Regions from separate parts of the Homo sapiens genome. Here region 1 is linked to region 2. Evidence: promoter capture Hi-C in 16 types of primary human blood cells and fetal thymus (Javierre and others, 2016). All regions are on one chromosome and are shown on one strand. Each heading gives the region's core, a stretch centred on a gene start or on the middle of the fragment in contact. The rest is flanking DNA. Distances are from core to core; before and after follow the strand shown.

Region 1 (6,673 bases), core at 164-2,663, 230 kb before region 2:
ATATAAGGATTTTTAAAAATACTACTGAATCTGATTAGTAACTGTATAACGTATTTTCTGTATATTTTGACTGTGAGTCAATTTGAAAGCAGCAATTTAAAACCCACTTGAATGCTTAGTTTAGCCTAAACAACGACTACAACATAAGAACAATTCTACAATCAAATTAGTAGTCAAATAACCAACGGCAAGTGGAAAATTGGTCATCGTGTTATTCTTCTATAACCTAATTCAAAATGCAACATTTAAAAATGTAAATCTCTCTTTTCAATGTTAAAGAAGCATCGATGAATATTTCTATGAGTAGGAAAATATTTATTAAAATAGTGGCCACATATTGGGACTGATCTTAGTCTTTTAACCGTCAACTCTTGGAAGAGACATCTGGGCCGGTTGGAGCCCAGGGGCAATGGAAAATAGAATGCGAAATACCAGCCATCTGTGATTGGCCCTTACAAAGAGGAGGAAACATAGTCCCAATGCCATCCACTTACAGACCTAGAGAAGAAAGTCATTGATCAAGTATTTCATTGGAGAAAAGTTGTCACAAATATGTTGATTAATGGAGACTAATTTATTTGATATGGAAGTTTGTTTTTCCCCCCTTTTTTGATGATGTTCGTCTTGATGAAGTTCTAGCTGTTCATTTTTAATGAGAAATGGTTAAAAGTTAAACTAACTTGTCTTACGTCTCCTCACATTTTTTTTCTGTCTACCTTCACTTCTTCAATTCTATGCAGTCTTAACTGAGCCAATTTGTACATATTTTCCATGGTGATATCAAATCCACAGAAGAATTAATAACTATGGAATTTTAGAAGCCTTGCAAAATAGAGCAAGTGAGCTGAGGGTGACCTCTGGAACTTCCATGTAAGGCTTAACTTGGGCTCATGGCCTGGAATGAACCAGCTCATAATGTGACACTTTTATAACCTAATAAACATGACTCCTAGGAACAAGTTCCAATCACATCAAACAAAAAGCTGTATATGGGGTTTCGGAAGTCCTACTTTCTGATCCCACAACTATCATATCTAAATTTTTAAACTGGACGAGTCACTCGATCTCCATGAGGCAAATCTCCCTTCCCTGTTACATGAGAGTTTAACTCACAGCACCTAGGTCACCTCTAGCACAAAAATATTATGATCCTAAACCTTATTCCTAATTGAGATCTGGATGGAGGGTGTTCCAAATCCACCAAATTCAGGAAATTATGTGAATTTCTTTGTAAAACAGTGAAGTCTGCCTGATTAACTATGATTCTCATTCATTTCCACCATTACCTACTTTGATAGCTAAATTTGTTTGTACCTTGAGAAGTCTTTTTCCACCTAAAGTTCTTTCTCTTGGAGGGCTAGAGAGAAAGTGAGGTCCAGTTCTCTGGGAGTTAAATTCCGTTTACGAAACAGCAATCTCTCTAGGAGTCATACTTCTCAGGACTATTCCATTTTCTCAAAGCACGTATGCACAATTTGAAAATGTCTGAAGTCACAGTTTCGATGGTTGTTTCCACAAGGAGAGCTATGGCCTATGAAATAAATGTCTGAGTCAGATTGGAAGAGAAAATGGAGAATGATGATTGACAAATATACTGATTTTGGAATAACACTTATTCTCTGCCTTCATGTCCAGGTCAATATTAGAATAATAATAATACTTTTCTTCATAATTTTGGAGGTATTAAATGTGCAATGTACGTGAAGACTTAAAAAAGTAAGGTGACAAGAATTCCTAGTTGTTATAATGTAGTCATCCCTCAGCTCAGGTCCTGGGCTACAGTTTTTGCTTAGACACTTTTGGTGACTATAGGAAGCTGCAAGTTCTTTGTGGTATATTTGCAGAATATATTTACAACTTTTGAAACTGGAATTACTTCATGATATCCATCAGTAGACAACCTTGTGAAGTAGATAAGACAGCTATTATAATTTCTGTTTAACAAGTCAAATTTCTATTTAACCAGTTAAATTTCCATTTCACAATGGAGATTCAAAGGGGTTAAGTGACTTGCCTAAAGTCACAGATCTGGTGGCAGTAGGACCAGAGGTAGATTCTAGAATTATGCTTCTCATTAAACCTCTTCTCTCTCATTTTTTGTATTTCTTCGCAAGGGCTTCAAACATCATTTCGTGAGTGTTTGAAGATTGACCTAGGGTCTTCATGATTACTCATCAGAGGCCCCTGCTGATCTTTTTACTGAAGTTTATATAAGAGAGAAATTTTAAAATCATTTCTTATTTACTTTTAAATATATTAGCAGTGACCCTGTGCTATCCAGATGAGTATAGGTGGTTTTCATCTTCATCTTGGGTTGGTTGCTGAACATGCACGTGCCCAGATCTGGAGGCACACTGCAGCATGGCTGGTTAGCTTTCACAAGGCTTCAGCTCAAAGTTCATGCTCCAGCTAAGGGAGCCTTGGTTCTCTCAGTTGGCGCTAAAATTTTGCTTCCCAAATTTGAATGTGCAGATGAATCATCTGGAGATCTTGTAAATTATGACTCAGCATGTCTGGGATGAGGTCTGCAATTCTGTATTTCTAACAAGTCCCAGGTGACATGGATGTCATAGGTCTGAAGACCAAATTTTGAGTTTCATGTTAGATATGTCATTAATCATAGGGATATCACAATTAGTGTTTCTCTGATAAAATAAATGGTGTTCAATAAACATCTAGCATTGCTTGACTGGGGTACAAGAATCTGGCAGGGCTTAGAGCTGAATTCTCTTCCCAATAGACATGAGACCTCATATTCTAGGGAGCTCTGTGTTCAGCTACATAGTATAGAATTCCAGCACCACACAGAATATGTGGAAGGAAGCAGAGGTCTCCTTAGTGAGATATACATATTATTATTGATAATATAATAATAATAATAGCTTCATTTTCTTGAGAACTTGCCAAGTGCTAAGAACATATTAACTCACTTCATTCAGCAGCTGAGACACAGAAAGTCTCAGTACCATGTTATGTGTGACAACCAGCATGAAAGAATAACAAATATATATATATATTGGTCTCTTTCCCCAGTTCCTGACACAAGGCTCCAAAACCCTTATAATTTCCCAGGCAACAGGAGTGCTAGAAGCATCTTTTGTATTAGTATTTGGTCTTTAGCCTGATTCCTGACACAGAGCTCCTAAATCCCTTAGAACTTCCTGCATGCATGATAGGAGCATCTTTTTTTCTAATGAGTTGACTCTTGGTGGACTTCCAGATGGGGGCTGGTCACCAGACAGACTACACCATGCTTAGAAGCTTTGAAGTTTCAGCTTCATTTCCCATTCTCCATGAAGGGGAGAGGAGTTAAAGATTGAGTTAATAATCATACTTATGTGATGAAGCCTCCATAAAAATCCCTGTAAGACTGGATCCATGTACCAGTAGGGTGGCATACCCCAACTCCACAGTGACAGAAACTCTTGTACTTGAGACCCTTTGGACCTTGCCTTATGTACCTTTTTATCTGGTTATTCATCTGTATCCTTTATCAGATCCTTTACTTTATTACGTAATAAACCAGTAAGGGTAAGTGTTTCCCTGAGTTCTGTGAGCCATTCTAGCAAATGATTGAACATGAGAATTGGGTTGTGGAAGCCTCTGATTTGTAGCTCAGTCAGACAGAAGTTGTGAGTAACCTGAAAACCCACCACTTGTGATTGGCAGGCAGTCTTGTGGGCCTGAGCCCTTAAACTGTGGAGTCTGTGCTAACTCCAGGTAGTTAATGTCAGAAGTTATAGTGCTGAAAGATAAAAGTGTCAACCAAGAATTCTATACCTGGAAAAACTGTCCTCCAAAAATGAGAGGGGGATTAAGATAGCCCAAATTAACAAAAGCTGAGGGAGTTTGCTACGACTAGACCCATTGCACAACAAATGCTAAAGAGAGTCTTTCAGGTTGAAATGAAAAAACAGTAGGTAGTAACAGAAAAGCATATGAAAATATAAATATCTCCACTAAAGTAAATACATGGACAAATATAATAACCAGTATTATCGTAATGTTGTTTATAACCCCATGCTTTATTTCCTGCAAGATTTAAAAGACAAATGAACCAGAATAATTATAAATGTATGTTAATGGGCAGCCAATATATAAAGATGTAATTTATGACATTCATAACATAAATTAATGTTGTTAATTGATCTGTGAATGGGTACAGTTTTTTTTAATTCAATTGAAATTAAGTAGGCATAAATTTAACACAGATTATTATAACTTTAAGATGTTAAGTGTAATCCATATTATGACTACAAGGAAAATATCTATAAAATATAGACAAAAAGAAATGAAGAGAAAATCAAAACATGCCACCACAGAAAAATAACAAAGAAACTGGATTTAAACTTGACATTTGAACAACTGGACATAATAGACACCTACAAAACACCCGACAATCACAGAATATACATTTTTCTCATCTATACATGGAACATATTTGAAAACCAACTACATGTTTTGTCAAAAAACAAGTCTCAGTAAATTTTAAAAAATGAAATAATACCAAACATGCTCTTGGATGACATTGAAATAAAAACAGAAATCAATATAAGATCTGTCAAAACTACATAATACCTGGAAATTAAACAACTTGAGGATCTTTTGTATTTCTGTATATTGCTCCTGAGTAACTCCTGGGTGAACATTAAATTAAGGCAGAAATCAAAATTAATGTTGAAATTAACAAAAATAGAAACACAACTTACCAAAATCTCTGGGTAGCAGCTTACACAGTATTAAAGGTAAGTTTATAGTCCTAAAGACCTTCATCAAGAAGTTAGAAAAATCTTAAATTAATATCTGACTTTGCACCTAAAGGAACTAGAAAAAAAAATCCAACTCCCAAGCTGGCAAAAGAAAAGACATAACTAAAATTAGAGAAGAACTGAACAAATTGAGATGCAAAAATTAATATAATACAAAAGATTACTGAAACCAAGAGTTGGTTTTTCAAAAAAATAAACAAGATTGATAGACCACTAGTAAGAATAACAAAGAAAAAAAGAGAGAAGACCTAAGTAGTACATTCAGAAATGACGAAAATGACTTTACAATTGATCCCACAGAAATACAAAAGATCCTCGGATAATGCTATGAATAACTCTATGCACACAAATTAGAACATCTAGAAGAAATAGATAAATTCCTGGAAACAGAAAATCTCCCAAGATTGAATCAGGAAGAGATAGAAACCCCAAATAGACCAATATCAAACTATGAAATTAAACCAATAATAAAAACCTACCAACCAAAATAGAAGGACCAGATGTATTCACAGCCAAATTCTACCAGACATATAAAGGAGAACTAGTACCAATGCTACTGAAACTATTCCCAAAAATTAACGAGGAGAGACTCCTCCCTAACTCATTCTATGAAGCCAGAATCAGCCTGATACCAAAATCTGGCAGAGACACACAAAAAAAGGAAACTTCAGGCTAATATCCCTGATGAACAGAGACACAAAAATCCTTAACAAAATACTAACACATTGAATCCAGCAATGTGCAAATAGCCAAATAGTCTTAGGTTGAAGCAAAAGTAATTGCAGTTTTTGCCACAAAACCGCAAATACTTTTGCATCAACCTAATAAATACACCATAATTAAGTAGGCTTTATTCCTTAGATTCAAGGCTGATTCAATCTATGCAAATCAATAAGTGTGATTCGCCATATAAACCATACAAACAGAATTTAAAACAAAATTCATATGATCACCTTAATAGACACAGAAAAAGGTTTTGATAAAATCCAACATCACTTCATGATAAAAACCCTCAGCAGACTAGGCATTGAACACACGTACCTCAAAATAATGAGAGCCATCTATGACAGACCCATAGCCAACATCACACTGAATGGACAAAAGCTGGAAGCATCCCCCTTGAGAACTGCAACAAGGCAAGACGCCCAGTCTCACCGCTTCTATTCAACATATTACTGGAAGTCCTAGCCAGAACGATCAGACAAAATAAAAATATAAAAGGCATCCAAATAGGAAAAGAGGAAATCAAATTATCTCTCTTTGCCAATAATATAATTCTATACTTAGAAAACCCTAAACTTTCCACCAAAAGGCTACCAGAACTAATCAATGATTTTAGCAAGGTTTCAGGATACAAACTCAGTATACAAAAATCGGTAACATTTCTATACACCAATAATGTGCAGGCTGAAAGTGAAATCAAAAACACAAACCCATGTATAATAGCCAGAAAGAAAATAAAATACATAGGCATACAGCTAACCAAAGAGGTGAAAGACCTCTACAAAGAGAACTACAAAACATCGCTGAGAGAAATCAGAGACAACACAAATAAATGAAAAAAAATCCATGCTCATGGATTGGAAGAATCAATATCATTAAAATTACCATGCTGCCCAAAGCGATTTATATATTCAATGCTGTTGCTATCAAACAACCAACATCATTTTTCAAAGAAAACTATTCTAAAATTCATATGGAGATGAAAAAGAGCCCAAACAGCCAAAGCAATCCTAAACAAAAGGAACAAAGCTAGGGTCATCATACTACCCAACTTCAAACTACACTATAAGGCTACAGTGACTAAAACAGCATGATACTGGTCCAAAAATTAAAAAAAAAAAAAAAAACAGACACATAGACCAATGGAATAGAATAGAAAACTCTCAGGAAAAAAAGTTGCA
Region 2 (6,560 bases), core at 564-3,063:
GCGAGGGTCTTTCTTTCAAAACTCGCACTGAATTAAGGGTCATGGCTACTCCGTACCCGGCTCTCAAAGGCACGGCACCTTTGAATTAGGTTGCGGAGTGGCCTGGGCGAGGGGACCCGGGGCCATCAAAGGCCCGAGGGAAGGCCGTGGGGCGACACCCGTCTAATGACAAGTAATTGAAGGATTCGACGCCGCGCATTACCAGCGGAACGGGAGGCATTAATTATTTAAAAACGATTAGCCTTGCCGTGTGTCCTGCAGGCGTCCCATCATGTTCAGCGAAGATAACCAGCCACCCGAGGCGAGCCGGGGCTCGGAGGGCGGCGGGCGCGCTCCCCAGCAGGCTTCGGGTGCGGTGGACACGGGCGCACAGCCCAAGGCACCAGGGAAGGAGAGGAGGGGCCACCAAGGGTCCCCACACAGGAAGGTGACTACATAACACTGACCCTGCTGAACAACGAAACAGATTTCTGCCCACTTGGGTTCGAAGTCTGGTGACTGCGGCGCAGATGGGAAAAGCTTTCCGGTCGGGGGTGGTGGGCAATTTCCATGTGCCAGTTCCCTGTCGCATCAGACCAAAGACCCAAAGTAACCCAGCCAGGCACGGGCCTCTCACAGTGCCTGCTACCCAGGCGTTTAAAGAAAAGACCCCAGAGAGAATGTGGATCTGGCGTGGGGGCAGGGATTGGGGGGGGGCGCTGGTAGACACCTGGGGAAATACAACTTTATGAGGTTTCAAGGGGCAGCAGCAGAACTACTATTTTTCCGAGGTCCACGCCTTTCCGCAGGCGGCGGAAAGACGCGGCTGGTTCTGTTGGGTCCTACAAACTCGCGTCCTCCGGAATTCCCGAGGGCAAGCCCGGCACGCGCGAGCGTGCTCCTGCCCGTGGAAGGGGGGAAATCGGCGACTGGGTTGCAGGGAGAATGCGATGATAAATGGCCCTGCGTCTGCTTTCTGACTTTCTCTCCTGGACCCAGCTCGTAACCCCAGAGGCTCCCCAACCTGCCTGCCGCCAAGCACGGCTGTGCGCAAAAGGCCACCAGCCGCTTCCTGCAGCCAGAGCTAAGGTTCACTCGCCTCTTAGAAAGGCGCGGCCCCTCCCCTGCTGCTGCTTGATGACGATCCCCATCGTCTCCTCGGCCTGCCTGTGTCCGAGAAAGAGTTGAGACTGGACTCGAACCCCTGCGCGCCAAGGGGAGGGCGTCACCATGCTCCGGCCTCAGCCTCTTCAAACTCCCATGCACCACGCACATCATTTTCTGCTGACCCCCACACTAGATTCTGGGGCCAAGGGGGTTCCCCACACCCCACCCTCCACTGTTCTCTGGAAACATGCTGCTCTCAGATCGAATCCCCAGACCCGAGCCGCTCGAGGGGCCTGTGTGGCTTCCTCGGGGCCCTACCAAACTCCTCTAACTGAGCTCAGAGCCTAAGCGGTCTGAGTTTGCAACTCTACGACCCCTCATCCTTCCAAGTCATGCACTTTCCGAACCCCCTGCAAAAAAACCCAACGCCTTGAGTCTCAGTTGGCTGAGCTTACCACCAGCCAAGCCCGCCCGGGCGTCCGAGCCCTGGAAGGGAGAAGGACTGGCTGGGGGAGGGGCGGTGAGCGGACAGGAGTGGGGTGCGGACGCTGAGGAGGGGAGCCGGGCGCGGTCCCCGGGTGGGCGCGCTCCCTACCTGCGGCGGCCGGCGGGCCGGCTGGCGGGCGGGCTGCGGAGCGTCCAGCTCGCGGAGGGAGGAGGCCGACTGCTCCGAGCCGAGGCATCCCCGCATTTATTTGAGCTCAAACCAAGCGACTGTTGACTTTAGCACACAAAGCAAAGATTTCACTGCCCGCTAGTTTAAAAATGAATATTTTACCAAGATATCGATCAGCGTTATAAAATTCAGTTAAGTACAATGGGATCCTGGCAAAAAAAAAAAAAAAAGAATAATAAAGGAGGGGGGAGGCAATATAATATCTGTGCAAATTTGCTGAAGTGTGACGTGGCATGGAAAGTTTACCCTCCTGGAATTCGGATCTAGAATGTTTTTTTCGGTTGTTTACAGACTTTGTTTATTCACAGATCATGGTTGCTTAAACCGGCGCGCGGAAAGCGTGGGGAAAAAAGGAAAAAAAGGAGGGGGGAGAGTCTCTGCACCCCACAATGAGTAGAGTTGGGGAAAGCGCGCAGTGGCGATTTGTGAGCTCGTTATCTCGGAACCCGGGCTAGGGGAGGGATTTAAGCGGGAGGGGGGCGTGAAAGACACAAGAAGCACAGAAAAGCCTCCGAAAGCGCCTGCTCCCCGACATCCTTTTTATGTATTCGGACAGAACTATATCTTATCGGCCGGGATCAGTGAAGGGGGGCGCGCTAAGTAGTTTAAAACGACCCTCGCACAATGGGCGTGCCATACGAAACATAGCAGGTTAGGGCAGCGCTTTCAGCCTCCATTGTCCCCCACTCGGCCCCCGGCCCTGCCTCTCGGCTCCTTCGCCACGGGAGCCTTTTATGTGATAATGAAACACATTTCAGGCCGGGCTCACGACGTGTGTGTCCTTGCTAGGAGGAGAGACGGCCTGATTGCTGGCTGTGGCCTCCGGATCCCCCCCTCCCCAATTTCTCTTCCTTGTGTTCTTCGGGACAATGTGGCATGTTAAGAAAGGGATTTGGTGGCGGGAGGGGGGCAGTGGCGGGTGGGAGGCGGAGGCGATGCCAAACCCCCCTCAAGCGCGTGGGAAGGCCAGGCTTGTTGGGGAAGGCGGCGGGGTGGGGGATGGGGTGGCAGAGACCCCAGCAAGGTAGCACTCAAAGACAGTCTCCAGGTCTGGGGCGTAGCTGGAACACTCCAGGTTAGGATGGTCAAGAAGCCCAAAGATCTAATCTTGAAAAAAGGAGCCTGAGCTTAGAAACCTGAGGCAAAAAGTCCTAGCCTCCAGGCTTTCGGAGTGTTTTTACCCACCGCAAGCCACTGCGCGCGGGAGTGGCTCCCAAGTCTGCCTGACCCGCGACGACACTGATCCTGCCCTCGCCCAGCCAGCAGATGTCCTGGGCAAAACCAACACCAGACTCCCCTTTGCGCTGTCGGCCTTGGTTTTCACTGCCGTTGGCCGTCCTTTTAGGCCAGCGAGGTCGTCTGGGGGGAGAGGCAGCATGGTGTATAAGAATTCACTCTGGGATTTTTCGTTATACTTTTAGAGTCCTTGAAGGCTCACAAAATACCTGCATAACCCCTGGACCCTGCAAACCTGGATTGCCAACCTCACCTAACTTACAAGAAGATTTGCAAGAGCCTTGAGTTTTGGAGGGAGATGGGGAGCAAATTTGCCGACAGTGGCATCTTCACTACTGTCATGGTCCATTGGCCAGACACCCCTTACCTCCTCCTCACTCCCAAATATACCCTATTTTTAAAAAACAGACTTGGATTGTTACCCTGACTTACCCTTTCAAACCAATTCCAGGAGAAGATCTTCTAAATGTTTCCCTACACCAAGTGTCTCGCCATTTCTGGGTTAGTAAGGTCTTTCTGGGTTAGAAAGGTCTGCCATGGTTGTGCACAATACCTGCTCCAGGGAGAAGGGTGGGAAAGGGTGGCACCCTGTGTACAGAGGAGGCTGGAAGATCCAGGCAGAGTCCCAATTCCACCACTGTTCACAGTGGTGAACAGGCAAAGTGCTGCACCACAAATTTGCAAGTTTGATCCAGGCTCATTGACCTGAAGGGAGGCCCAAGATCAGAAGTACAGCAAAAACATGTGAAATTGAGGCTTCCCCCAAGAGAAGCAAGCTGTGGGGCCCAAGAGACCACAACAACAGGGCACATTCAAACAGCCAAGGTGGAAAATTGTGATATGTGGAGAGTGATCTTCTACTGGCTTTAAAAATAAACCTGCTGGAATGGTCTTCCTGGGATCTGTGTATTTCATTGTGTGTAAAGTTAACCCCCAAATTCAAAAAGTAACCATAAACCATACAAGTTCCATTTAATAATGTGCTTGCTTTAGTGTTTAGGGGGATGTGTACTGGTATCTGCAAATTTGAAGTGGATTTAGAGAAATAAGATGGATTGACCAGTGGAGGTGAAGATAGATGGACAAGTATGTGATAAAGCAAGTATAATGAAATGTTAATTGCAGAATCTCGGGAGCAGGTCCCTGTGTGCCTACTGTAAAATTCATTCAATTTTGGTATGTCTGAAAATTTTATTAATAAAATGTTGGGAAAACAGCAACACTCCCTGGGCCAAAATAAAATACAACCTGCAACCAGACAGGGTATCCCTCCCTCCTTCTTGAAATAATTTCCAAGCCTGTATATTTTGTAAGCCAAGTAAAGAAAAGAAAAATCTGGAAGAAAAGATTCAAGGGATAAAACCGGGTATAACACTTTAATATAGATTTGTGGAACTCTGGCCCTTGCAGCCAGAATACACATTTATAAGCCATAAATAAAGCACGCAGAAACCATAAATTAATCGGACCCGAGACCTGGATTTCACCGTGTCAAGATTGGGAATGCTTTTTTTTTCTTTTTCTTGGTCATTTACAACAGACCCTTACATTATTTTTTTTCCTGTTTTTAAACAATAGTACAACCCTCTGGTTCTGTTAAAACTACATGGTTTTACACCGAGTCACTCACAAAATTTTTTTTTTTTTTTAAGTAAGACTTCCCTGCAACAACAGCAATGGAGGAGAACAACAACAACAAAAAAATCAGAATCTGCAGGTGCTTGAAGAAGCAGGAGTCTACACAGTAGTGGAAACCGGAGGCTTTTTTTTAACTTTATATTCTTTCCCGTTTTCCTCCTTATATAGAACGTGGGGTATCTGTGTGGCCCTCTGTTTGGGACGGAACGGCTGCAGCGGGTGAAGAAGACTGCTGTCTTGGGGGTGTTGGGGTGGGGGTGTTATGGATTTCTTCTCCCTTGCGTCTCTGCAACACCGTCTCCCCAAAGTCTCGACCCCCACTTGCTCTCTCACTTGTCCTCGATCCGGGGTGCCAGAGTTAGCCGGGCCTGAAGCCGTCGTCTTCTTAAGAGGAGTTCATAATGGGCCGGGAGTACACCCCCTGGTAGTAGGAGGTATCTGCGGCCAGGGGCGAGGCGTCCAGGCCCGTTTTGTTCGTGACCGGGCCCATGGCCAAGCTGCCAGGCATGGGGGAACCGTAGCCGGGGTAGTGCATCACCTGTTCGTAGGCCTTGAGGTCCATTTTGTGGGGTTGGTGGTGGTGGTGGCTGTGGTGGTGCTGCTGCTCCGAGGACATGAGGTTGTTGATGGAGAACGGGTGGTTGAAGGCGTAGTGGTGTTCCGGCTTCAGGTGGGCCTCAGGCGGCAGGCCCGGGTGGTGGGGCGGGCCCAGCAGGTGGGCCGCGGCCTGCTGCTGCTGCCCGGGAGAGGGCGCCGGCTCTGGGGGGCTCAGCGCCGCAGCCGGCGTCCCCTTCAGCTCTCCCAGGCCCCCTCGCTTGTGCTCCTGGCACGGGGAGGCGCTCGAGTGAGGCGACTCGGTGCCCGCCGGAGTCTCGGAGGCCGGCCCGGCGGCCTCCCCGAGTTGAGCCTGTGAGGCCTGGGCTCCGGCGGCCGCCTTCTTGCCGCTGCCGGCGGCGCCTGCGGCCTCCTTCAGCGCCAGCTGCTTCTCGCACTTGAAGCGCTTCTGGCGGCGCAGGTAGCAGCCGTTCTCGAACATGTTGCCCGAGTCAGGGTGCAGGGTCCAGAAGGAGCCCTTGCCGGGCTTGTCGGGCGAGCGGGGCACCTTCAGGAAACAGTCGTTGAAGGAGAGCGAGTGGCGGATGGAGTTCTGCCAGCGCTGCTGGTTCTGCCGGTAGAAGGGGAAGAGGTCCATGATCCACTGGTAGATCTCGCTCAGCGTCAGCATCTTGTTGGGGCTCTGCTGGATGGCCATGGTGATGAGCGAGATGTACGAGTAGGGCGGCTTTGCGTGCGTGTAGCTGCGCCTGTAGGTCTTGGGGTCGCGGGCGCGGCTCAGGCCCGCCTGCCCGTACATGGGGCTCATGGAGTTCATGTTGGCGTAGGGGGCCAGGCCGCCCATGGCCCCGGCCGCCTGCCCCCCGAGCGGGCTCAGGCTGGGACTCAAGTGCGGCCCCATGCCCGCCACGCCGGCCGCCCCGGCCGAGCCGCCCATGCCCGCCATGGCGCCCGCGCCGGGGGACATCCCCGCCAGGGACGGGCTCATGCCAGCGCCCACGTACGACGACATGTTCATGGAGCCCGCGCTCATGTTGCCCGAGCCGCTGCCCATGGCGGCCGCCGACATGCTCATGTACGTGTTCATGCCGTTCATCCCCAGGCCGGCGTTCATGTTGCTCACGGAGGAGTAGCCCTGCGGACAGAGCCCCGGGAGGGAGGCGACAGCGTTAGCACCGCGGCTGGAGGGTGCCCAGACCTCCCACCCACCGCCCAGGCCTCCGCGTCCGGGGAGGCCTCCGGGGAGCCCTTTCGTCCCCGATGGCCCAGTCTCCGGACTCCGAGTCTGTTTCATTCAGGGAGAGTCATGATCGATCGCCCTTGGGAAGGTGGCGAGCGGATTGCTGCTTGGGCATGTGGCCCGTTCCTA

Evidence for each region. The method cuts DNA at HindIII sites, captures the fragments that hold promoters and counts their contacts. A CHiCAGO score of 5 or more calls a contact.
Region 1: a fragment that was not itself captured here is called in contact with the fragment with the promoter of LINC00261 in region 2 in 2 of 17 cell types (erythroblasts and naive B cells); the score reaches 5.7 in erythroblasts.

Annotation. Positions count from the first base shown.
Region 1 is chr20:22,351,327-22,357,999 of GRCh38, forward strand. No RefSeq gene overlaps it. Among named protein-coding and RNA genes, the nearest start is that of LINC01427, 72 kb to the left of the region's middle. The HindIII fragment of the contact is 3,691 bases long and covers 1-3,259 here.
Region 2 is chr20:22,576,829-22,583,388 of GRCh38, forward strand. It overlaps LINC00261 (long intergenic non-protein coding RNA 261), which reads right to left and starts at 1,814. Exons shown (of 4, transcript NR_001558.3): 1 at 1,682-1,814. FOXA2 (forkhead box A2) reads right to left here. Exons shown (of 2, transcript NM_021784.5): 2 at 4,170-6,326. The coding sequence ends at 5,022. RefSeq lists enhancers at 661-1,616, 1,617-2,572, 2,573-3,528, 5,205-5,776, 5,777-6,349. The HindIII fragment of the contact is 8,652 bases long and covers 518-6,560 here.